4 separate regions of the Homo sapiens genome follow, and regions 2, 3 and 4 are each linked to region 1. Evidence: promoter capture Hi-C in 16 types of primary human blood cells and fetal thymus (Javierre and others, 2016). All regions are on one chromosome and are shown on one strand. Each heading gives the region's core, a stretch centred on a gene start or on the middle of the fragment in contact. The rest is flanking DNA. Distances are from core to core; before and after follow the strand shown. Region 1 holds the start of ACTR1B (actin related protein 1B). Region 2 overlaps TSGA10 (testis specific 10). Region 3 holds the start of MITD1 (microtubule interacting and trafficking domain containing 1). Region 4 overlaps CRACDL (CRACD like).

What was found. The method cuts DNA at HindIII sites, captures the fragments that hold promoters and counts their contacts. A CHiCAGO score of 5 or more calls a contact.
Region 2: a fragment that was not itself captured here is called in contact with the fragment with the promoter of ACTR1B in region 1 in 1 of 17 cell types (fetal thymus); the score reaches 6.0 in fetal thymus.
Region 3: a fragment that was not itself captured here is called in contact with the fragment with the promoter of ACTR1B in region 1 in 2 of 17 cell types (fetal thymus and naive CD4 T cells); the score reaches 7.5 in fetal thymus.
Region 4: a contact is called between a fragment that was not itself captured here and the fragment with the promoter of ACTR1B in region 1, in 1 of 17 cell types (neutrophils). The highest score is 5.0, in neutrophils.

Annotation. Positions count from the first base shown.
Region 1 is chr2:97,659,551-97,666,355 of GRCh38, forward strand. It overlaps ACTR1B (actin related protein 1B), which reads right to left and starts at 4,494. Exons shown (of 11, transcript NM_005735.4): 1 at 4,293-4,494; 2 at 2,332-2,396; 3 at 1,021-1,096. The coding sequence starts at 4,340. It overlaps LOC124900516 (U4 spliceosomal RNA), which reads right to left and starts at 5,181; the gene lies at 5,041-5,181. It also overlaps a transcript of C2orf92 not described here and the pseudogene RNU4-8P. RefSeq lists enhancers at 2,956-3,597, 3,563-3,632, 4,673-5,012 and silencers at 3,993-4,052, 4,133-4,592. The HindIII fragment of the contact is 7,381 bases long and covers 3,099-6,805 here.
Region 2 is chr2:99,148,686-99,154,785 of GRCh38, forward strand. TSGA10 (testis specific 10) reads right to left here. Exons shown (of 21, transcript NM_025244.4): 1 at 6,008-6,100. C2orf15 (chromosome 2 open reading frame 15) reads left to right here. Exons shown (of 4, transcript NM_144706.4): 4 at 1,798-2,984. The coding sequence starts at 1,874. The coding sequence ends at 2,149. Among named protein-coding and RNA genes, the nearest start is that of TSGA10, 3.2 kb to the right of the region's middle. RefSeq lists enhancers at 5,889-6,100, 5,900-6,099. The HindIII fragment of the contact is 5,617 bases long and covers 1-4,663 here.
Region 3 is chr2:99,178,376-99,184,375 of GRCh38, forward strand. It overlaps MITD1 (microtubule interacting and trafficking domain containing 1), which reads right to left and starts at 2,683. Exons shown (of 7, transcript NM_138798.3): 1 at 2,456-2,683. The coding sequence starts at 2,606. MRPL30 (mitochondrial ribosomal protein L30) reads left to right here and starts at 2,809. Exons shown (of 6, transcript NM_145212.4): 1 at 2,809-2,874. RefSeq lists enhancers at 2,351-2,490, 2,501-2,730, 2,751-2,800 and a silencer at 3,018-3,190. The HindIII fragment of the contact is 610 bases long and covers 1,578-2,187 here.
Region 4 is chr2:98,816,196-98,822,482 of GRCh38, forward strand. CRACDL (CRACD like) reads right to left here. Exons shown (of 10, transcript NM_207362.3): 7 at 5,662-6,287. Among named protein-coding and RNA genes, the nearest start is that of LINC02611, 47 kb to the left of the region's middle. The HindIII fragment of the contact is 2,438 bases long and covers 3,059-5,496 here.

The sequences.
Region 1 (6,805 bases), core at 3,244-5,743:
CCCTCACCTGCCCTGACCAGAACCTCACCTGCCCTGACCAGAACCACCCCTGCTCACTGGGTGTCCCAGGGTCTGTGGCGGGTCCTGAACTCAGCATGGGCTCACCTGCCCACCAGCTTCTTAGGCTCTTAGAGCCCAGCTAGCTTCAGCTGGGGGGATCAGAGAGGGTGGCAGTGTGCCCCGCAATCTGCAGGCTCTCTTCTTCCCCATTCTCACTGCCGGCACATCCCCCACATTCTCCTCACACTCTGCCAGCTCCCCTCTGGCCAGCGCCGGCACCTTGCAGCCGCCCAACACGGCCCCTCCTGGGCCACCTGTGCCCCCTGACCTACGCCTCTCCCCCCAGCCCTTTGGCCGGTCCTCACCAGTCCCCTGTTTGCACTGACATGCTGCCTCCACCTGCCCTTCGATGTCCCCCCAGCCATGCCCCTTCTCACCTAGCACCACTTAGCTCCTCTCACCACCTCGGCTCCTACGGACCCCATCTGCGAGACCCCCACCCTCTGCACCTCCAGCTCAGGCCTCCCCTTTCTGGGCCCAGAACCACGCATGCCCCACGCCCCGGCACCCGACACAATGCTCCTCAGGCGCCTAAACTGCCCTTGGCCAAGCTCAGCTTGCTGCTCTCCCCACACCCACACATGCTCTCCTGAGGGTCTGATCAGGCCATGCAGCCCCTTGGTGGGACACTCCGGCTTCACTGTGAGAGGCGGCCCCATGGCCCTCATTAGAGCAGACGTGAAGTGTGTGTGATTCTGACTCTTATATCACTTTTTGATCAGTTCTTGGTTCTGTAGCTTCCAAATAGCTTCTAAAAGACAGGACACGATGAGCTCTACCCATGCTCCCTAGAAGAGGAACTGCTGCCCCATCTCAGGGGGAGGTGCCCCTGCACAGCACTTCCCAGCTGGAGCCTGGAGGAGGTACCCGGGAGGTCACCAGCAGAGGCCCAAGAACACATGCCATGTTCCTGCAACTGAGGACCCCACCCCCAGGGAAAGGCAGGCTCCTCGGTGTTACCTCTGCTTTTGGTCCGATGAAGAGGTCCCCCTCCAGGGCTCCAGCCATCACCCGCATGTGCTTCGGCCGCCCGACACTGTTAGGACGGATAACGTCAGCAAGGTGGGCAGGGAGCATGGCAGAGCTTGTGTCCAGAAAAACCGAAATCCAACCATAGTCGCCCAGAGGGTACCTGGCCTCCAAACACCAGGATGTGGCTGGGGGGCACAGGTTGGAACTGGGGCCTATGGGGTTCGGGGCTAGAGAGGGGGCCTAGGCAGGACGAGAAGCTCAGGGTCAGAAGGCACGGTCAGCAGAGACAGCTGCATGTCTGAGCGCCAGAACCCAGCCCTCCATGGCCCAGCCCTTGCAGAGGGTCGGCTTCCTGCAGCCACAGTGACTCAGCCCACGCTCCTGACTTCGGTGGGGCAGGGCTGCCGTCACCATCCACAGACTGAGGGAGGACAACCCCAGGAAGCTGGGTCGGGGCTCCCTTGTGCACCCTGCTCTCACTCAGTCAAGCGCCCTACCCCACTGCCAGCGCTTCTGGATCAGAGATTCAGTTCTTGGAAACTATAGGATCTGATGAGCTACCACTAAAGGCAAAGGAACCTCTAATTATACCCATGCAGTCAGAAAGGAATGCTGAAGCTCGACAGGGCGCACCATGCTAGCTCTGTCCCAGACCAGGCCGGGCTCGGGCTAGCCTGCCACTCGGGGCCTAGGATCCCCTGCTGCCCGCTGCCTTTAGGCCACTCATTCCAAAGCCTCCAGGATTTGTGAAGAGGTGCCCCTAAGGGCAACTTTCCCAATGGGCTCGTGGTGGGTGCAAGGGGCACCCCAGGCTCTCTGGGTTTGCAATTCTTATTCCCGCCCCCACCAGTACCATACAGGGCAAAGGATCCCCTCTTAACTGAAACAAGACATTTTCTAGAGTCTGAAAACAAGCCCGGCAGAAAACACTTCCAGGGAGGAAAGGGTGGCTGTGCATCTAATTCCTCACTCTTCCTGCTCCGAGTTTAGGGCTCCCCTCGGAGATGTCTCCCTTTATTCTTGCTGCTGCTACCACACCCCATCCCCAGGGAAATGCTGGTTGCTTTTCCTCCTTGCTGGCTCAACAAGACCAAAACGAGAGACTCCCAAGACAAAGGGGAACCCTAGAACGCTTGTCTTGTTCTTTCAGTGCTCTCTCAAGAGTGTCAACCTCACAAATTTGGTGTTTTCCATACAGGTCAGGGCACAAATTGTCTTCAAAGAGCCCTGTGACAGAAGGCCAATGTTCTTACAGAAGGTAAACAAAAGGACTAAGGCTGCTGCCTGAGCCACACTTACTAGTTTGGGAAACAGTATTTGGGAATCTGGTCTCCTGCAAAGCCAGCTTTAATCACCCCCGAACCCTGCAAGGAAAAACAAAGTTGAGCTGCCCACATGCACCACCAGATGAAGCCAGTCCCCCGCAATGGAGAGAGCTGGCTGCCCCGTCAAGGCAGGCCAAGGAGGAAGCCAGGGACCCTGCCAGGATCATTTACAAGTACACCTATGGTTCAAGATTGGGGGCAATTTTGTATCCCCCTGCTCTGGCAACATTTGGCAATGTCTGGCAGCTGGGGAGAGGGGACATGCAGTGGGGGATGCTATTGGCATCTAGTGGGCAGAGGCCAAGGATGCTGCTCAACATCCTACGATGCACAGGCGAGCCTGCACTACCAACAAGGAGCTAGCCCAGAATGTCAATAATATAGAGATAGAGAAACCACGAAGGGCACCTTCCTCTGCACAACTAATGGTTGGCTCCAGCAGGATTCCATAGCACATGCTACTCCCAAAAGCTAGAAGAAACCCCTCTGTGTGGGTCTTTTTTTTTTTTTTTCAACAGCTTCCTTCTCCCCCAAGAACCCAGAAGGCATGGAACATGGACGACCTACAGGGCCTGCTGGAGAAGACCAATGGGTGCATGGGATGACCGGCAGCTTCCCTCAAGTGGCTTCCCAGAGACTACTAGGAGAACTTGGTCCTATCGCTGCCCCCACCTGGAAGCTGGACTTAAGGATCCCCCAAAGAACGGGGCAATTAGAAACCTCCCACCCAGCGAAGGGATAAGCTTCTCAACTCAGTCCCACCACTCTTCATCGCAACCCTCTGAGTCTGCAGCAGAAACAAACATCTCCAAGTTACAGAGGAGGGGATGGAATCCCCAAGGGGCCGAGCGGTAGCCCTTTTAACTTATAAGCCTGTTGATTAGCCTATACGAGTTATTTGCACGTCAAGAAAGGAAGTAGCCTGCTCCTTCCTGCAGCGTCCTGCTGGTGTGACAGCACGTCCCCAAGCTCAGTGCTAACCTCCTTATTAAACATCCCCTGCTGTGACTCAGGGAACCCACATGGGTACTCTAAAACAGTCATTCAGGGACCCCACGGGGTCATGTGGGAGGGAGACAGATCCCAGAAAGAGCACAAGTGAGTCATTACCAAAAACTCCAAGGCCCGCACACCGGACGCACATACCCAGCTAGGGGCAGACTCAAAGATCCCAGCCCTTATCTTCTCCCCATATCAGAGCTCGGAAGCCAGAAATCTTCCTAAGGCAGGTGAAAGCAAGCCGAGCCCCACTGCTGAAGGACAAAGCCACAGGAAGCCTGATGACATCTTTCCTCTGAGGCTTCCAAACGATCACCCCAAATTGCTTGCTGATACTGGGAAGAGTGGCCATGAACTCTCCATTGCTCTGCTGGCTGTGGAATGTTTGCTCAGCACAGGAAGCATTTAAGGAGAAAGTCAAAGTAGCCAAAAGGCAAACCAGATGGTGGTGGACATGTGGGTGACAGAGCATCCTGCATTTGTTGCCTCGGGGTGCAGCCCCAAAGATAAAGCCAGCAGTGTGCAAATGACAAATGCTACCCCACCTCCGCCAGGCAGCCAGAGCCAGGGCCGAAGGACGCGGAAAGGAACTGGTGTGGAAACCTGCCCAGGAACCGCACTCTCAACTGAGAAGAGTCCGGGGCGCGTCCCCGCCCGGCCGCCCGGCTGTCACTCAAGCTCTCCTGAACTTCCCCGCCCGACTCGGGGAGGGGTCGGGGAAGAGGCTCTGCGACGCGGGCGAGGGGGCTCGCCCCATGGCCGGCCTTACAAGGCCAAGAGGGCGCGCGCCCCCGGGGCGAAGCCAGCGGCCCGGCGGGGGCGACGGCCACGCAGTGAGCGGAGGACGCGCCGAGGCGGGCGGGGGTCTCTCCCTGCGCCGCCGCGTGCGCCCCCGGGGGCGGGGCGCCCGCCCTCCCCCTGGCTGCCGGGCCTCACGTTGTCGATGACCACAGGCTGGTTGGCGATGATGTCGTAGGACTCCATGGCCGGGCCGCGCCGGCCCTGCCCAGCAGGCGGGCTGCAGGAGGCACCGGATGGGCGGGCGGGCGGGAGGACCGGGACGGCGGCGGCTCCCGACGCGGCGCCGCTGCCCTCCCTCCCCGAGCCTGCAGCCTACGCGAGCCCCGCGGGGCTTTCTGGAGGGCGGGCCCGGCGGCCAATCATCGCTCCCACCTGGCCCGATTGACAGCAGGTGCCCGGGGCTGGCTGCGCGAAGGGGGCGGGGCCTCCGGAGGCTGGCCAGCCAATTGAGGTCGTCCGGAAAAAAGTGGTCGCGGCGTTGCCAAGGTAGGCTGCGCAGTGTCTGGGATGATGTCATGGCTCCGTCTTAAAGGGGACGCGGGCGGCAGAAAGTGGAGCTGGGCTGGTGTGCGCGCGGCCGGAGTCTGTGGAGCTGGAAATTCACCGGTCCAGGAAGACGTCTTTCCCGCGTCCCAGCACCGGTCCAGAAAGACGTCTTTCCCGCGTCCCAGCACCTCGGGCCACGCTCCTTCGTGAGAGCGCCCTCTCCAAGGAGGCCGGCCCTGGATATTTCACCCAAAATATTTATTTTTTCTTTTTTTCTAGGTAAGGTGTCTTGCTCTGTCGCTCAGGCTGGAAATCTTGGGCTCAAGCGATCCTCCCGCGCCAGCCAGTAGGGGGGACTACAGGCGCGCACCATATTTATTTATTTTTACTGAAATAGTCTCCGTAGAGACTGTTAAAAATTGCCGATGTCGACTATATTGCAAGTCGTCACGGTGGGGTATTGCGAAAAGTTTTCAATTAGCAATAATCGCGCTTCGGATAAACCTCATTGGCCACCATACGGCCACCGCGCAACGCTAGCTAATTAAAAAAAATTTTTTTTGTAGAGAAGGGATCTCGCTATGTTCCCCGGGCTAGCCTCGAACTCCTGAGCTTAAGCGATCCTCCCGCTTAGTCTTTCCAAAGCGTTGGGATTACAGGCGTCAGCTATTGCGCACGGCCCCATAATATTTCCTCGTTGAGCACTGAAGAAAAGATCCTTTTCCTTATAAAAATTACAGTTTCGTGGTATTTTGGTCCTGGCATTTATTGAGCACCTGCTCTGTGCCTGCGGAGCACTTCTGCCCACTTTACATAAGTTATATTAAATCCTTGCAACAATATCAGGTAGTTGTATTATTACTCCCATTTTTCAGTCAGGGTCTTCACACTTTGGTAACCTGCCCAAGATTATTGGGTGTGGAATTGGCATGCAGGTAGCCCCCTGCGGCACTGGAGTCAGCTGCTTCAAGAGTGCAGGATAGTTGAGTTCTACATTTGTTTACCAAACGGATCCATAGTTATTTCCCTGTATATATACCTCTCCCAATGGGTTGTGAGCATAAAATTTGTAAAATTGAAGCGGGTGTGCAGAAATCACAAGTGTACATGTACATTTCAATGAATGATTAAAATGTGGACACACTTGCATAACCACCGAGTTCAAGAAACAATATTGTTGCTGGAAAAGGGGTCCCGATCCAGACCCCAAGGGAGGGTTATTGGATCTTGCCCAGAAGAAATTCAAGGCAAGTTGCAGAGTGCAGTGAGAAGCGATTGTTTATTGAAAGCTACTCAGTTACAGAGTAGGCCATCCTCAGAAAGCAAGAGGGGGAACACACCCTCTTTATATTAAACTCTTCTTATAGAGGGGTCTTATCTATGTAAAAACTAAGCTATGTCTACATGAGGGTGGGCTGACAGCATAACAAAATTTAGTGCTTTTTGATTTAAAGAAAGTTATCCTTGGCATTTTAATGCATAAATACATCAAAGCATGACTCTCTCTCTCTCTCTCTCTCTCTCTCTCTCTCTCTCTCTCTCTCTATATATATATATATATATATATATATATATATATATTTTGTTTTGTTTTGTTTTTTTGAGACAGGGTCTCACCTTGTTGCCCAAGCTGGAGTGCAGTTGCCTGATATCAGCTCACTGCAACCTCCACCTCCCAGGCTCAAGCTATCCTCCTGCCTCAGCCTTCCAAGTAGCTGGGACCACAGGTGTGCACCATCACGCCCAGGTAATTTTTTTGTATTTTTAGTAGAGACCGGGTTTTGCTATGTTGCCCAGGCTGGTCTCGAACTCCTGAGCTCAAGCAGTCCACCCACTTTGGACTCCCAAAGTGCTGGGATTACAGGTGTGAGCCATCGAGTCCTGTAACTATAACTATCTTAAATCATATATTGTTAGGCAATATTGGAGCATCTGGACATTTTGTTGTTGTAGGATTTTGTCCTTGCAGGCATTACTAAACTGCTCTTTTAGCCATAGCATCTTATGACCATGGGTTGGGACTAGCAAGGAATGTGCCTTGCTAGTTTTAAGATGGAGTTGGGGCCGGGCGCGGTGGCTTATGCCTGTAATCCCAGCACTTTGGAAGGCCGAGGCGGGCAGATCACGAGGTCAGGAGATTGAGACCATCCTGGCTAACACGG
Region 2 (6,100 bases), core at 605-3,104, 1.5 Mb after region 1:
GTGAGGCTGAGCGCAGTGGCTCATGCTTGTAATCCTAGCACTTTGGGAGCTGAGGTGGGTGGATCACCTGAGGTCAGGGGTTCAAGACCAGCCTGGTCAACATGGGGAAACCCCGTCTCTACTAAAAATACAAACGTTAGAGTTTCTGTTTGGGATGATTAAAAGTTCTGGAGATGGATGACCATGATGTTTGCACAAAAATGTAAATGTACTCAATGTCATTGAATTGTACACTTAAAAGTGTTTAAAATGGTAAATGTTATATATATTTTACCACAATAAATAAAATATAGACTGGAAAAAAAATAAATAAAAATAAAAATAAAAATACAAACATTAGCTGGGCCTGGTGGCGGGCACCTGTAATCCCAGCTACTCAGGAGGCTGAGGCAGGAAAATCACTTTAACCTGCCGGGTGGAGGTCCAGTGAGCCGAGATCGCACCACTTCACTCCAGCCTGGGTGAAAGGGTGAAACTCCATCTCAAAAAAAAAAAAAAAATGGGTGAGGGATTTCGATCGAAGCTGTGGAATCTGCTCCAGATCTCAGGTTGCTACTATAGCATCTTGGGTAGATCACTCTTCTCCAGTAAGCCCTGGGCTTTCTCAAACCTTTTCTGTACAGGAAGCCTGTCCCTTCTGCCATCCTGGTCAACTCTGCCTACCAAATTCCTGCCCATCTTTGAAAGCGAAACCCTAACCTAGGCTCCCCTCCTTTGGGAAACTTCCCAAGGCCTCCCTCCATGCTACATGATCATCTTTTTTTTTTTTTTTTTTAAGACGGAGTCTCGCTCTGTCGCCCAGGCTGGAGTGCAGTGGCGCGATCTCGGCTCACTGCAACCTCAGCCTCCCGGGTTCACACCATTCTTCTGCCTCAGCCTCCCGAGTAGCTGGGACTACAGGTGCCCGCCACCACGCCCGGCTAATTCTTGGTATTTTTAATACAGATGGGGTTTCACCATATTAGCCAGGATGGTCTCGATCTCCTGACCTCGTGATCCACCCACCTCAGCCTCCCAAAGTGCTGGGATTACAGGTGTGAGCCACTGCGCTCGGCCGATCATCTCTTTTTACAGACTAGACATCCTTAATCACAAGTATCTTTTTTTTTTTTTTTTTTTTTTTTAAGACAGAGTCTCGCTCTTGTCGCCCAGGCTGGAGTGCAGTGGTGCAATATTGGCTCACTGCAACCTCCGTCTTCCAGGTTCAAGCTATTCTCTTGCCTCAGCCTCCTGAATAGCTGGGATTTCAGGTGCATGCCACCACACCCAGCTAATTTTTGTATTTTTAGCAGAGATGGGGTTTCACCATGTTGGCCAGGCTGGTCTCTCAATCCTAACCTTTGGTGATCCACCCGCCTCGGCCCCCAAAGTGCTGGGATTACAGGCGTGGGCCACCGCACCCAGCCAATCACAAGTATCTTTATAGGACATCTTTATTTTTTACAGAAAATAAAGTACTAGCAGAGTACTTGGCCTTCAGTCGTTATTTCTTTAGCCCATTAGTAATGAATAAAGAGGTTTCGCTAGCAAGAATGAAAGAAAGGACTAAGAGAAGCTCTACTATTTTCTGAAAGGTGATAAAACATACAATCAGATAAATTTCCTTTTAAAAAGACTTTCAAATAAATCTTTAGAACCTGCAAACCCTCCCACAAAGAAAATGTAAACACTGAAAGGTAGGAGGCAATTTTACTTTATATTTCTAGTATCACCACAGCTTTTCATTCAAACAAACATTGCCATGAAGTTAGGGAAATTCCTGCTGCATTCACTTGTTACTTTTTTTTTTTTTTTCAGTAATCAAGTTGAAGAAACACTTCCACTACTTAAAAAGGTACCTGCAAATTACTTTCACATTTGTTCAGCTATCCTAATGGGATTTTCACTTAGTAAATCTGCTACTCAGGTATCTGCTATACATATGGATTCAAAAGTGGATGATCACTTAATACGAGGGACTGAAAAAAGCAGGTTGGAACCAGCGACTCAGTTATTTCAAAACACCAAGAAAATAAGATTAGAAGACACAAATCAAGAAAACTTTACAAGGATTGAAGGGACTGGCACAGGATCTCTTTCTGGGAAAGCCTTGGGTTCAGTGGTATATGTCAAAGAAAGTGATGGACTAGAAATGACAGATGTGGAATGAAGCAATTTGTACGTATTACCAAAGAAACCAAAAACTGCCTTTGACTAAGGGGGGTGTTGAAAGAGAACTTAACCTTATTAGGAAACCCTGACAAAATGATGGAAGACTATTGCCTTATTTTGCACTATTTGTGAATCATCTTACACTGCATTTTTTTATGATGCTTATTCAAAAGGCAGTTGCTTTAGGGTGAAAAAGCCTTCCAAGATTCAAAGCAGATTTCTCTGGTATTATATTATATCCTTCTTAAAAACCAGAGTTTTTAAGTAACAGTATTTGAATGGCATCAAAACATTTTCATTTTAATGTATTTCTTTAACAAGTGGTTAAAAAAAGTGTCCAAGCAGCCGGGCGCAGTGGCTCACACCTGTAATCCCAGCACTTTGGGAGGCCAAGGCGGGTCAATCACCTGAGGTCAGGAGTTCGCAACCAGCCTGGCCAATATGGTGAGACCCCATCTCTACTAAAAATGCAAAAAGTTAGCCAGGCATGGTGGTGGGCACCTGTGATCCCAGCTACCTGGGAGGCTGAGGAAGGAGAATCGCTTGAACCCTGGAGGCGGAGGCTGCACTGAGCTGAGGTCATGCCATTGTACTCCAGCCTGGGCAACAAGAGCAAAACTCCGTCTCAAAAAAAAAAAAAAAAAAAAAAAAGTCCAAGCAATGTGACATCCGTATTTCACAATATTTCTGGTGTATCAGTTTTGTATGTTACATTTCCATTTTGGGATTCTGCTTTATGATACTTTACTTTCTTACATTTTGCATTTTTGTTCTGTAAAAGATCACTGCCAATAAACTGCAAAAGACCAATAAATTGCATATCTTCAGAAGGATTTCACATTTTAAATCGTGCCTTTAAAACTGCTTTTTCCCCCCACATAGAATCCATTTTAGAGTTAGAAAAGTGTTCTTTCCAAGTGTTAATAGTTTGTCTTGCAGATGGTACCATTTTATGTCACCAATATTTAATATGAGAAAAAACAACCTGTTTAAAAACCTTGTTTTGTATATCAGTTATGAAAATATCTGGTAGTTGGAAATCTCTTTAATATTCATTTTAAAAGAGGAAAGGGCATCTTTTCCGGGGGGAAGCTATATTTTATTAATCAGAAAAATACTAAACAAATGTGTTTGTAGGGAATATTGAGAGTGAAAAACAATTGTTGAATGGGACATAAGCCAAAAAGACAATGCTTTTTATTATTTACAGAACGTAATTCTTTAGAAGAGAAAAAAAATACATAAATCATTCATTTGTTCACCTAGCCTGGCACTGTGCTTGGTGCTGGAGATACAGTAGTGAATAAAATAGCCAGTGCCTTGTAGAGTTTTGTGCCTGTCTACTAGGAAAGACAGGAGATTATACAGTAATTATATAAGATGCAAATTGTGATATGCCATGAAGAAACGTATAGCATTCAGAGGGACATAACACAACACAAGACATACCACATAAAACTGATTTTTTTTAAGATGGTCTCACTCTGTTGCCCAGGCTGGAGTGCAGTGGAGCGATCATAGCTCAGTGCAGTGTCGAATTCCTGTTCTTAAGCGATCTTCCTGCCTCAGCCTCCTAGTAGCTAGGATTACAGGCATGTGCCACCATACCCAGCATGTTTTTGTATTTTTTTAGAGACAGAGTCTTACAATGTTACCCAGACTGGTCTCAAACTCCTGGCCTCAGGTGATCCTCCCACTGGGCCATAAACTTGATTTTAACGTGGGAAATGGGAAAGCGTATCTCAGGACATTTTTGAAAGCAAGTTGATTAAGAAAGTAAAGAAACAGAATGGCTACTCCATAGAGCAGCCTCTGAGGACATTTATAGCTTTTGCAGTGACATGGTTGTCTAAGTGAATGATGGTGATGGTCATAAAAGTGGAGAGAAGGGGATAGAGTCCAGGTGAAGTCTGACAGGATGTAGTCATGGTTTGGAAGCGGAAAGTGAGGAAGAAGAAAGGGCTTCTGGCAAAAAAGGCTTTAGCCTTTATGCATGCAGGATCCCTGGGGGGAAAGAGTGAGTTCAGGAGCATGGCTTTTAGACTTACCAGGTTTACAAGGCAGTTGTATCTATGGAACTAAAAAATATAAATTTTGAAGTTGTATACAGAAATGGTACTTAGAGCCATAGAATGAATGAAATTGCTTAAGGAAAATGTAGTGTGAGATAAAGATCTGAGGAACTCCAACATTTAGGGCTGACTAGATCAGGGTAGCTGGCAAAGGGGACTGCGGAGTTGGCAGTGAGGCTGGAGGAAAACCTGGCAAAAGGGACTGAGGAGTTGACAGGGTAATGTCAAAGTTGTCCACAGGAATCTCCAGGTTGAGGTAGTCAAATGAACACTTAGATGAATACTGAAAAGTCCAGTGGATCTAGCAATATGAATGTCACCCGTGACCTTAGCAAAAGCACTTTTGCTGGAATAATGGGGAAAAGCCATTTTGGAGTACGTTGAAACAATGAATGGGAAGTGAGAAAGTAGATACTGGATGTATAGCAGTTTTTCCAAGAAGCTTGGCTCAGAAGGGTAGCAGACAGGATGACAAGTGGAAAGAGAAATGAGGTCACTGGAGGATTGTTAAAGAGTACAGCATGTTTGAGTGTCACTTGAAAGGTTCCAGTGGAGAAGCTGAAGAAGTAGGTAAAGGTAAGAATAACCAAGGGACAGAAGTCCTGGAGCAGGGAGGAGGGAATGGGATTCTTTAAAACCTCTTCATCAAGAAACTAGGAAAAAAAACCAAAGTTGTACCATCTCAGATTTCAGAGAAAGGGAATTTAGAAGGAAGTAATATAAGCAAAGAGCAACAATATTCTGTGACTGTTTTTAATAATAACTAGGAAAATTCCTAGTGCAGTTAACTCTGAACAAAATTCATTCCCACCTGCATAATACAAGATAGACTTACTCAGAGTGACCTTGGTAAAAGGTGTGATAATAAAGAAAGGAGGTGTCATTATGTCTTCATTGTAGCTTTATATGAAGCCCTGGTCATTTACCGTATCAGCATCAGCAAACTGAACACTGAATGATTCTTACTCCAAGAGGCAAGTCTTAGTGGTTTCTATTTTAACTGAAGGAGAGATTAATTTCTGTGCAAGGTTGAAAAAGGTGACCACAAATTCTTTGGGCTTCTTTCATCAAGAGGTGAAGTCCATTACCCCACGCCTTAACTCTGGGCTGGCTTTGTTGTTGTTTTGGCCAATAGAATATGGCTGAGGCGCTGCTTCCAAGATTAGGCCTGAATTGAGATGCCCTAGCAGCCAGGCAGCACCTGCCAGAGCATGAATAAGGCTATCTTGGACCGCCCAGCGTAGCCAACCTGTGCTGAATGAAGCCACATGAATATGCCCAGGAGAAACTAGCAGAAGAATCACCCACCTTGCCCACGTTAGAGATATAAACCACTATTTGAGGCAGTTTGTTATGCAGCAAAACTTAGCCGAAACTATTACCTTGCTACCTTGACTGCTGGTGTAATTTCCCATCTCATGGAGTCACAGAGTTTTCTTGCCAACTGCAGTGAGTTGGCAAATGGGAATGATCAGTAGCCTCAGTGTGTTTTCTGATCCACTCCATCCTGTATTATCATCTGCGAATACCGTTTTTCCTTTAAATGCAATGTGTCTTTCAAAGCTGACTTGAATTTCTCACCTTTCGAGTTACCTGCCATTTGGACTCACTTATTTGGAGGAGATATGTAAAGACCCAGCGTAATACCTGTATGCTCAATAAAAAGTATTTGCTGGTACTCCTTCCTGCCCGTCGTGTGACCTGACTGCTCTGGGCTTCTGGGGGCTCCCCCTAAACTCGCTCCACGAAATGACCCCTCCAACCTGGCACGCCCGCTCTCCTACCTTCGCCCAGGGCTGGCCGTTATCTCTGTGCTGTCACGCGGGGAAGTCCCATCTGAACTGGGGCCTTATGACCTTCGGTACTTTTATTCGAAC
Region 3 (6,000 bases), core at 633-3,132, 1.5 Mb after region 1:
ATATTCAGTCCTTTATTCAAGAAATATTTATTGAGAACTAACAACATGCCCAGCACTGTTCTAAGTGCTGTGGATACAGCAGTTCGTAAAACAGACAAAATTCTCTTCTATTGTTCAAGTAGGAAGAGAACAATAAAAATAAATTGGCAAAACATGTATATTAGATTGAGGTAAGTGCTATTAAATAAAATAATGAAGGAGGACAGGGAGTGCTGGGATGGGGTTATAATTTTACACTGGAGGTCTGGGAAAGCCTCACAAAGAAGGTGGTATTTGTGTAAAGGCCTGAAATAGGAGAGAGAGTGTGCCATGCAAATAAATATCTGTGAGAAAAGAGCACATTCCTGAAAGAGACAAGCCCTGAAATGCAACTCCAATTATGTTACTCCTTTGTAAAAACCTTAAATGGTTTCTCCTTGCCTGTGGAATAAGTTAAAATCTCCTGGTAGTCAAGGCCATCCTCAATGTGATCCAAGCCCCTATCTACCTTTAAACTTTACTTCTCACTCTTCCTCTTCAGATACATGCTCAACCAAACTACTTATTTCGTAAGACAGCACAGGAATTTGAAGACTCTTAGATGAATTTCTGACTTCTGAAATTATTTTTCCTCCAAAGCCCCAATCAAACTCCACCTCTACCTTTCCACCCTCACATGACCTTTAACTGTTTAAATCCTCATTGCGTTTATCTATAGATATCTCTCTCCTGGCACTTATTCCCTGTATTAGCGCTATTTGCATTTTGGTCTTAACCCATCTATGTGACATCATTGTCTCTGTAACCTCTACGGGATCAGTGAAGCACCCTAGAGCAGAACTGTGATTCTCCTGCTTCAGATTCCTAGTGCAGCCAAAACTTGAGCAGTGTTCCACCTGACCAACACAGTACACCATCTCTCTTTTGGGATTCAGTATACCAGAGTCGTTGGGGCCTTGGGCTCCGACTGTGACTCTACCACCTCCTAGTGGCAGAACTTGAAAGCGAACAATACTTTTTATGCTGTAAAACGAGAATACCATCAACTCCTACTTGATAGGGCAATTGGTACGGATGAAACGAGATCATGCTTTTAATGTTTTCTGCAATGCCTGGCACTCAGCACTGAAACGTGATATCTATGCTTATTGCTGTTGTCACTGTCATCATTATCATCAAATAATGCCCCAGGCAAGGTAGAGTTTACAGTTATTTTTTCTTTTTTTTGAGACGGAGTCTTGTTCTATTGGCAGACTGGAGTGCAGTGGCGCGATCTCGGCTCACTGCAACCTCCGCCTCCCGGATTCAAGCAATTCTCCTGCCTCAGCCTCCCAAGTGGCTGGGACTACAGGTGCGTGCCACCATGCCCGGCTAATTTTTGTATTTTCAGTAGAGACGGGGTTTCACCATGTTGGCCAGGATGGTCTCGATCTCTTGACCTCATGATCCACCTGCCTCGGCCTCCCAAAAAAGTGCTGGGATTACAGGAGTGAGCCACCGCGCCCGGCCGGTAGAGTTTGTAGTTCTGACCAAAGCACCAAACCATAAAGGGCTCCCCTCTGCTGCCCCAAAGCTTCTGTAACACTTTAATTATAAGAAGCTTAAACTAGAAAGAACAGAGGGAGCTTAGTCCAGACCGGGAGTGTCGGGGGTTGGGGAGCAGGAGCTGATCTTATCAATTTAATACATAAATATTGAGTGTCTACTGTGAGCCAGGGTTGTGCTGGGTGTTAAGGAATATTTGGGTATTTCTCAACATTGAATAATACGAAAAGTCTCACTTGTCTCCTCCACAACCCTGCGCATTTCTCACACCGAACCTCATCCGTTTAAGAAAAACTTTTCTTCTTCTACCGCTACATAATTTTACTTTGGCTTGCTTTAAATGCAAATGTTTAAACAGAAAATTAAAAATAATCGTATAATAAACACCCTTATTACCCATCACCGAAATTTTTAAAATTAGCATTTTTGCTCAAATAGAGCTTCGATTTTTAAGAAATTTTTGCTTAAGGAAAATTAACTAAAGACATCATAGCATCTCTTTCTAAAACACTTTGGTCTGCATCTCTAAAAATTAAGGAAAGTTTTGGAAAAAAAATCATATTGCCTAAGAAAATAATTTTAATGCCCCCCAATCTATATTCAAACTTTTCTAATAGATCCAAAAATGTCTTTTAAAGTTCGTACAAACCCAGGTCCTATCAAAGCTTATATATTACATTGCGTTATATCTTATATCTCTTAAGTCTTTTAAAATCTAGACTAGTAGCCTCCCCACCTTTTCTAGGTAACATCAATCTATTAAAGATCTAAAAGAAAGCGGCCCAGTTGTCCTATAGAATATCCCACCTTCTGTATTTAACTGCTTCTTCGTGGTGTGGAAAAATCATTTTTAACTCTTTCACTTCACCCCAGACACAGCAGGAACCAGCTCCTTTTCCTCAGGTCCTCCCCGCCTTGGCTCATTGCTCACCTTTCAGAACCTGCAGGAGCAGATCAATCCCCTCTTGGTAACACACCAGAGCCTGCGGATACCGCGACTCCGAATCTAGTTCTACTGCCCGCTTTAGCACAGTGGCTGCAGCTGTGCTCTGCGGGTCCTGCCTCAGCCCGGACTTCGCCATAATTCTGGAAGTTCTCCTCCGCCTCAACCCAGGATGAAGTTGAGCGGGTCTGCTGCGCTTCCGGGAAGTGGTCATGTGATACCCAGGCGCCTGCGCTCTCTTTCTAGGGACTTTCCTGAGTGGGAGGGATTTCGCCGGAACAAAAATGCCTCAGTTTGGAGGTCGCGCTCACTGCGACGGCAGGCTTTGAGTGTAGCACTTGGTAGTTCTTCCTCTGCTCTGCTTCCCTTCGGAGGAAAATTTCAGGCTGAAGGTTTAGCGGGTGCCGGTGAGTGGGGAATGAGTGGCGGAGAGTGCGGCATTCTTCGCAAGGTGTATCCGGGAACCCTCTGCAGATCCTAATTGATTTTCCCTATTGCGTACTGAATTGGCCGGTTACGGCAACCTAAATGGGTCTGCCCCTGATCCCGTCACATTGGCTCCCGTAAGGCCATTGGCCTGCAGGATCCCCCCGTTTCCCAATTTGCAGGATCCAGGGCCACGCGGCTTTTTGTGCCCAGACTCTTGGAGCTCAAGAACGGAGCCGCCGAGGCTGGACAGCTTGGGAAAGGGAACCCAAGCAGCATTTTCTGTGCTGCTGCTTTATTCATAACTTAGGGTTGCCACTGGGTATTAAGGTTGCTTTTTTTTTTTTTTAATGAAGACAGAAAATTGCCTTTATCTTTGTATTGCTTCATTTTATAATGCAAACATCCAAGAGTTGGCAGTTAGAATATTTGCCATTTTATTAAAACTGTGATTTGTTACCATTTTGATCGAGACCTACCAAAAGCTGTTTGTTCTGCCCTTTTTGCCAAGAGGCAGTAATGAGGGCTGCCTACTGCTTGTTAGGCACTAGGAGTTCAGAGAAGAGACACGCTTCCAGCTTTCAGAGATCTCTGGTATCTCTGCAAGAGTGATTCCATGTTTTGCATTTCAGAAGTGTTTTTCCCCCTTTAATAATTGTATACATTGTCGGTTTAGAAAAAGAAATCGATTTTTAACATTCCTGTTGCATGCATGCTCATTGTAAAAAGACAAAAGAACTATCGGTCGCTGGGGGGGAGAAGGGGGAGGAAAAACGCCTTTTTTCATACCCCCAGGGGTATGTTAACGTTTTTCTGACAACCTTCCAGAGTTTTTCTGTGATTACACACGTTCACAGACATTTAAAAAAATAGAAATGGGATCATACTTCTCCTGTGATGCCTGATATTTTCCTGTTTTACAGAAGACAGCGTAATTGTTTCAGGGTCCAGGAGTTACGTGCCTAATTATTAACAGTAACTTTTACTTTATTAAAACGTATTCCTTGCCGGGCGTGGTGGCTCACGCCTGTAATCTCAGCACTTTCGGAGGCCGAGGCGGGAGGATCACGAGGTCAGGAGATCGAGACCATCCTGGCTAACACGGTGAAACCCCGTCTCTACTAAAAATACAAAAAATTAGCCGGGCGTCCGGGCGGGCGCCTGTAGTCCCAGCTACTGGGGAGGCCGAGGCAGGAGAATGGCGTGAACCCGGGAGGCGGAGCTTGCAGTGAACCCAGATCGTGCCACTGCACTCCAGCCTGGGCGACAGAGCGAGACTCCGTCTCAAAAAAATAAATAAGATAAAATAAACGTATTCTTTGAGTCAAACGTGGTGACACACACCTAGCTCCAATTACTGGGAAAATTGAGGATTGCTTGAGGCTGAGTTCAATACCAGAAACATAGCGAGACTCTGTCTCTAAAAACTTGTAACTTTTGACTATCACACCTTCAGAAGTCTGTAAATATTTAAACTTCAGTTATTCTGCAAAAATATATTATATGTCTGCTATAGGGCAGATACCGCTTTACACAGATGTTTGGGATACTTCTATGAATATAACAGACCCAAAACAACAAAATCTAAAAACCCTTTTCCTATGGAATTAGCGTGCTATTGAATGTACATGCACTAAACAACAAAACCTAACAGATAATTAAGTTACGTTAGAAGATAAGCACGATAGAAAGCAGTGAAGAGGAATTGGGAGTGTTGACAGTTGGGGTATGGGTGAAAATGTTAAATGATGTGATCTGGGTTGACCTCATTGAAAAGGTGAGATTTGACCCAAAAATTGAAAAAGATAAGGAAATTAGCCATGTAAATATCAGGATCATTCCAGGAGAGGGAATGGTCAGTCAAAGGGAGCATGCCTGCTTGACTAGTTCTAGATCAAACAAGGGGGGCAGCATGTCTGGTGATTGAGCAAGAGAGTAATTGGAGATGGAGTCCTGGAGGTGGGGAAGGTTGGTAGTGCTGTACTACAAAGACATGAGAGGGTGAGGGTTAAGAATTAGAGTTGGGGGTGGTGGCCCATGCTTGTAACCCCAGCACTTTGGGAGCCCAGGCGGGCGGATCACCTGAGGTCAGGAGTTCAAGAGCAGCCTAGCCAACATGGTGAAACCCCGTCTCCACTAAAAATACAAAAATTAGCTGGACGTGGTGGCAGGTGCCTCTGATCCCAGCTACTCAGCAGGCTGAGGCAGGATAATCGGTTGAACCCAGGAGGCGGAGGTTGCAGTGAGCCAAGATTGGGCCACTGCACTCCAGCCTGGGTGACAAAGCGAGACTCTGTCTCAAAAAAAAAAAAAAAATTGATTTTCACTGTGATCAAAATGGACAAGCATTGGAGGTTTTAATTTTTTCATAAATAAACTTTATTTTTGAATAGTTTTAGATTTTCAAAGAAGTTGTGAAGATGGTATGGAGTTTCTGTATATGCTACACTGTTTCCCCCTTTCATGTTTGGTATACCTGTGTACAGTTGATGAACCAATATTGATACGTTATTAAAGTCCATACTTTATTTAGATTTACTTAGTTTTTGCCAAATGTCCTTTTGCTATTCCAGGATCCCATCCAGGATACCACATTACATTTAATGGTCATGACTTCTTCCTTAGGCTCCTCTTAACTGTGACAGTTTCTCAGACTTTCCTTGTTTTTGATATCATTGACAGTTTTGAGGCAGTTAGGTGTTTGGGAAGATACTGGAAGAGAGTACCTACATAAATTATTTGGAATTCTTCTGAATGGGATATTTGTTCTTTCTCATTAACTTATTCACCTATTTATATTAGTATGAATTTAGGGTTATTTATTTATTTATTTTGGTTTGGATTATAAGCCAGTAATACTTTGTTACTTATTTTGTTGCTGAAATTGTTCCAGCTTTGGGTACAGTTGACTGCAGTGTCACTTTGACATACCCCATCGTTATGTTTTTTCCAGTAGTTCCTTTCTAGCATTACAAAGTGCTCCAGACATAATCAGCCATTTCTCAAAGGAGCACTGGTTCCTTTTATTAAAGAATGCAGCCAAGATCTGGGCACTGGGTGTGCTCCTTGCCACTGAGTGCTAGTGCTTTAAGTCCTCTCAGCTAACA
Region 4 (6,287 bases), core at 3,028-5,527, 1.2 Mb after region 1:
CAGGCTACCAGCTCCTCCTCTTACCTACCTTTCAGAGTCCCCTGATACTCACTTTATGCATTCAGTTTAGGGTTTTATGACGTATCAGTGGGAGAGATGGGGTGGTGTTTATTCCATCTTGGTCAGAACAGCAAGTCCCTTTTTATGTCACTTTTAAAGTGGTAGGATTACGAGGTGATTTTACTATCATTTTTAGGCCACTCAGGATTGTTCATATAAAGATATCTGTAATAATGCTGAGGTTTCTGGCTTGAGTATCTGGGTAGATGGAGTACTGAGAAGGAAAGAGAACTGTGCTGGAGGTGGCATTGACAAATGGAATTATGAATGCTGAAGTGTCAAGTCAGGGCTGCTCATCAGATGGGTAGGTGGCTGATTGCTGTGGCCCAAGAAGTCAAGGGAAGCAAGAACTCCAGGAAACAGGTGGGAATCTGTGATGTGTCTTGCACGAGGGGAAATGAGGAGAGGTCGCTTTGTACTGGGTGACATGCAAGGTTAAGACACACATGGTTGAGGAGCAGAGGAAAGAGGCAGGGAAACAGAGGTTACAGTGTTGATGACACTTGCTCAGAAGGGACTGTGAAGGGAAGGGCAAGACAAAAAGAAATGCCAATGTGAGCAAAGTTGGTTTTCTTTAAGAATTCAAGACATATGTGGGTATATACCCAAAATAACTGAAATCGGAATCTCAGAGATATTAACACCCCCTGTTCACTGAGGCACTATTCACAACAGCCAAGATGCGGAAACAGCCTAAATGTGTTTGGACAAACAAATGGATAAAGCAAATGCAGTGTATACCTACAGTGGAATATTATTCAGCCTTAAAAAGGAAGGGAATTCTGTACTTGCAGCAACATGAATGAACCTTGAGGACATTATGCTAAGTGAAATCAGCTAGTCACAGAAGGACAAGTATTACATGATCACATTTCTATGTGAAATCTAAAATAGTCAAATTCATACAATTGAAGAGCGGAAAGGTGGTCATGAGGAGCTGGGCGGGGGAGAGGGAAATTGGGGGCTATTCATCAATGTTTATAAAGTTTCAGTTATGTTAAGAAGAGTACGTTCTAGAGATCTGCTCTATAACACTGTACCTATAGACAACAATACTGCATTGTACATTTTAAAATTTAAGAGGGTCAATCTCATGTTATGTGTTCATATCACAATAAAATGAAATTTTAAAAATTCAAGAGACAGGAATATATTTTTAGCATGATGCCAATAAAACCCCCCACAGCTTGTATTCTAACCCAAATGAATTTGAATATATCTGAACTGTGTCATTAAAAAAGGACGACAGTCTCTTTCAGTTCATTTCCTTCAGAAAATGGCTGTGACATACAAAGACAAGGTGGCCAGAAAATGGCTGTCTACACTCCTCCAGCATCCAGCTACCACCTGCCTTCTCTGTGCAATAAACTCTGAGGGTCAGTCCCCTGTGCTCTTCCCATCTTTTGGGGCCAAGAAAGAGCTTGCATGGCAGGAGGACATTAAATATTTGTTGAAAAAAAGAATGCATGAATGAGTGAGTACTGGAGTCTAGAAACAGAGGGTCAGAGACTGGAGTGTGTTACTCTGTCACCAACCCTGTCTGGAGGAATCAAGCTCAGATTAGCCAATGCTGGTTATCAAATGAGGTCCCCAGGTGAGAAGGGTGGTTTCTTGCACTACCTTCCAAAACACCAACATGTGACCATGACTTTGTAAAAAAAATAAATCTCATACCCAGAAACAAGACAGACTAGAAGGAGAGCTGACCTAGGAGTGATTTTTTTTTCTACATACTTTCTGTGTTTTGCAATTTTTCCACACAATATTCTCTAACTCCTTTGTTCTCATTCTAATCCTGCGTGCAGAAGCTGCTTTATGACCTGTAATTTAGACTCTGGGATGGATTGAACCAACAGGAGGATGCATAATGTTCTGCACAAATGAACAAGGCTGATAACCCTGGGCCATTTACTTCCTACGACAGATCAGCAAATTATGAACCAGGCTTATAAACAGGGCTCCTCTGCCTCGAGGAGCACAGACACATACTAAGCTTGCAGTAACCACTCCAGCACAGCCCCTGTGAGGCTCAGCCCCTTTGGCAACCCAGGCTCCTGTTTATTACAACCAACCACCATTGCATCCTTTCCTACTCCTTCTGCTGAAGCGTCCCTCCATTCCTTCAAAGAAGGAAAACAAGGTGTGGAAGAGAGGAGGAGGAATAAACCAGGTGCTGGGGACAAAGCAGTTTGAGTGCCCAAAGCCGAGTCATCTGGAACACTTCAATCATCCAACTTTACTGTACATGCCCTGGAGGGAGGACGGGGGAGGTGGCAGACTATCTGGGAGCTCTGGGCAAGGTATTTGCCACCACAACAGCAAATATTAGGTCTTTCTGGAAACAGAGTGATATTGTTATTAAAACTTTCATTATCTGTATGTTTTATGTGAACTGAATTGCTTCTAGCTAATGTAATTTGGGAGCAATGAGAATGATAATAGTAGAAGTGATAATAATCAATGAAAGCACAAACAGATTTGGCATCTAGGGAAAGTGTGGGGGCAGCTTCACTGCTGGGGTCTGACAGCGCAGACCCTGAGATTCTGCTCTGGTCAGCATGAGATAGCCCCTCAAGGTCCAGGTAGGATCAGGCAGCAGGCCCAGCCTGTCCTGGTACCTGTCCTTCCAATACCACTGCCCCTGCCCCCAGAGTTGCTTCCCTATAGAATGTGGGTAATTCCTTCCCTCTCTCTGTGTTAAAATGAATATCATTAACCATACCCATAAAGTAACCTAGATTCTTCTTTCGTTTTGAAATTCATCTAACTCTGACATTTCTATGGCTTTAGTGAATGTGATTAAACTTAGATGGATGAGACAATTCTCTTCTACTATATAAGCAAAGCTGTTAATAAAAAAAATACTCTATTACATTTTATAAATCAAAGAAAAATACACAAAGTATTTACAGATTATCCCAGGCATTTTATAGTGAAGAAAGCCTGGCTTAGGTTGAGAAACTTACATATAAATAATGGGCAAAGCATTGCCCTCTGAAGCTTCTTTTTCAGATCTGACTACGAGCTTGATATTCTGTTTTTAAGTTCCATTCATTTAGCAAGCTCTTGAGAGACATTTTCAATTCTAGGCCATGAAGGTCAGGGTTTCATGTGCACAGAGAGCAACTCCTTCCTCCCTTGCTACTTCAATGGCTTTTTGAATCACTCTACAATAGCTTCAATAACCTCAATGGAAATCTGCAGAGTGGATCGTCAGTGATGGTTTGAACTTCCTCCAGATTCCGCACTGATTATCCTACTGCAGTGGCAGCAGCAACACAAAATCACGGCTGTGCCAAGGGGCCTTCAGATTGGGAAGGCCACATGTGTGGGCTCTTTGGAACTGTGAATCCTTGTGTGTCACGTTAGGAATTTAAAGCACTGTAAAAGAGCCAGAAAAGATTAGACTATTTTGGAACTGTTTTCACATTGTTTTGTATGAGCTAATTTTCTTCCTATGTATGCATCTTCCTCTTAGGGTGCAGGATTCCCTAAGAAAGCTACTGGGTTCTATTTCCTCTCTGTCCCACAATACACTGCTTGAGTAGCCTGAAACATTCTTTTTTTTTTTTTTTTTTTTTTGAGATGGAGTCTCGCTCTGTCACCCAGGCTGGAGTGCAGTGGCGTGATCTCGGCTCACTGCAACCTCCGCCTCCTGGGTTCAAGCGATTCTCCTGGCTCAGCCTCCTGAGTAGCTGGGATTAGAGGTGCGCGCCACCATGCCTGGCTAATTTTTGTATTTTTAGTAGAGATGGGGTTTCACCACGTTGGCCAGGCTGGTCTTGAACTCCTGACCTTGTGATCCGCCTGCCTCGGCGTCCCAAAGTGCTGGGATTACAAGTGTGAGCCACCACGCCGGGCCAAAACATTTTTAAAAAACAAAATTTGTCATGGAAAACTTCTCCCTAGGGCCCCCATCACATGCACACACAACTTATTTGTGTAGTTTCATTTTCTGGTTCACAGATTTCCATTAATTTAAAAAACCAGCAGGTCAGGCATGGTGGCTCATGTCTGTAATCCCAGCACTTTGGGAGGCTGAGGCGGGCAGATCACTTGAGGTCAGGAGCTCGAGACCAGCCTGGCCAACATGGTGAAACCTCGTCTCTACCAAAAATATAAAAAAATTAGCCGGGTGTAGTATCGTGTGTGCCTGTAATCCCAGCTACTTGGGAGGCTGAGGCAGGAGAATCACTTGAACCCGGCAGGTGGAGGTTGCAGTGAGCCAAGATCGTACCACTGCATTCCAGCCTGGGCAACAGAGTGAGACGGAGTCTCAAAAACAAACAACAACAAAAACAACAAAAAACCCAGCAATGAAAGATTCTTTAGCTCTGCTGCAAATACACATTTTCAACAGATTTCTCATTTCATCTGAAACACTATAAGAAGTGACAAATGTCAAAGACAGAGAAAGGTCATCTACTTTGTCTCTGCTCATTTCAAAAGACAGCTGCTTTCAAATATTCTTACGTTCTGCCTCAATGTTAACCCAATCTCCCTTTCAGGACAGCAAGTAAATGCTGACCCTCTTGAGAGACTTACGTTTTATACAGACTTGTGATTCCAATATATGGAATACTTTCCATGTTGCAGCTGAGCCACGTGAACCTGATTATGAAGCAGGAGGAAATTCTTTCTTGGAGGAAAAGGTCAGAAGGACCCTAATAGAGGAGTATGTTTCATTTATAGCCAAGAAATAGCTTAGGCCCTGAAAGAACCTGCATCAAAATGAGTACACATGTCCTGGGATTTGGACTTTGCTGAGTTTCTTAGGTCAAAAGTGGGAGAAGAATTTGAGGGATTCGCTGAGAGTCCTATCAAAATCAGTTTTTACGTTTCTCTTTATCTCATGTTTACACACTGACTTCTCTGTACTTATGCAAAATCCTGGTATTTATTTTCCCTTTTCTACTCTTTATTCCTTATTTTATCTCTCTCTTTTTAAAACAGACAGGGTCTCACTCTGTCACCCAGGCTGGAGTGCATGGCACCATCATAGTTCACTGCAGCCTTGAACTCCTGGGCTCAAGCAATCCTATTTCAGCCTCGCAAGTAGCTGGGACTACAGGCCCTCATTACCACGCCTGGCCAGTTTTAAAATTGTTTGTAGAACGACGTCTCACTATGTTGCCCAGGTTGGTGTTGAACTCCTGGGCTTATCAGCAGGCCTTGGCCTCCCAAAGTGCTGGGATTACAGGCATGAGCTACCGAGGTCGGCCTATTCCTTACTCTAGATTAGGGGTGTCCAATCTTTTGGCTTCCCTGGGCCACACTGGAAGAATTGCCTTGGGCCACACATAAAATACACTAAACTAAGGACAGCTGATGAGCTTAAAAAAAAATTCGCAAAAAGTCTCAATGTTTTAAGAAAGTTTACGAATTCATGTTGGGCCACATTCAAAGCCGCCCCGGGCCCAGGCCGCGAGTTGGACAAGCTTGCTCTAGATCAGACATGATGTTAGTGGGAATTCTGACTCCTTCCAATTCCCCTGCAACAAAGTTTGTACCAGGAGCATTTGGCGAGTGTCCAGCAAGATGTGCCCGTGGATGTGGATCTCCCCAGGCCCTGCCCTTCCCGCACCCTCGGCGGGCTCTTACCAGCTCCCCTGCGCAGCGGCCTTTTCTCCGCCGTCCTGGGCTCCTTCCTGGGTTCCCGCTCTCCCGGGCCGGCGTCGGGGGGCGCGGGCTGGTGCGGGAGCGTGAAGCTCTGCAGAAGCGGCTTCCGGGGCAGGGGCGGCTTGGAGCTGAGCGGCTCGGGGGGCCGGGCCTTCCCCTTTCCTTGGTCGCTGGGGGCCCTGGTGCCTCGAAGGGCGGGGGCCGTCCCGAGGGGACACTTCTCCTCCTTCGGGAGCACGGTCAGCGACCTTTCTAACCGGACCTCGGCACTGTACCTCTTCACACCCTTCACCTCCTGAGAGGCGCCATCCCTGTATTTGAGCGAGAGGGAGGTGGACCGGAGCTTGACGGGGAAGGGGTTTCTGTCCTCACTCGGGGCCGGCTCCTGGGCGGCTGGGCAGGGCTCTCTCGTGCCGGGCGCGGCGGCCGCCTCCTGAGGGCTCTTGCGCGGCCCGGCCGGGCTGGCCGCCCTGTCCCCCGAGTCCTGAGGGCCGCGCTCCGCCAGCTTCCGAGGGCCAGGTTTCGCGTGCTGGGGCTCGGGGAGACCCTGGAGGTCGTCAAGAGCCGCCTCGCTCCTCCAGACCGGGCCGCTCCTCGCGAGGGGCAGG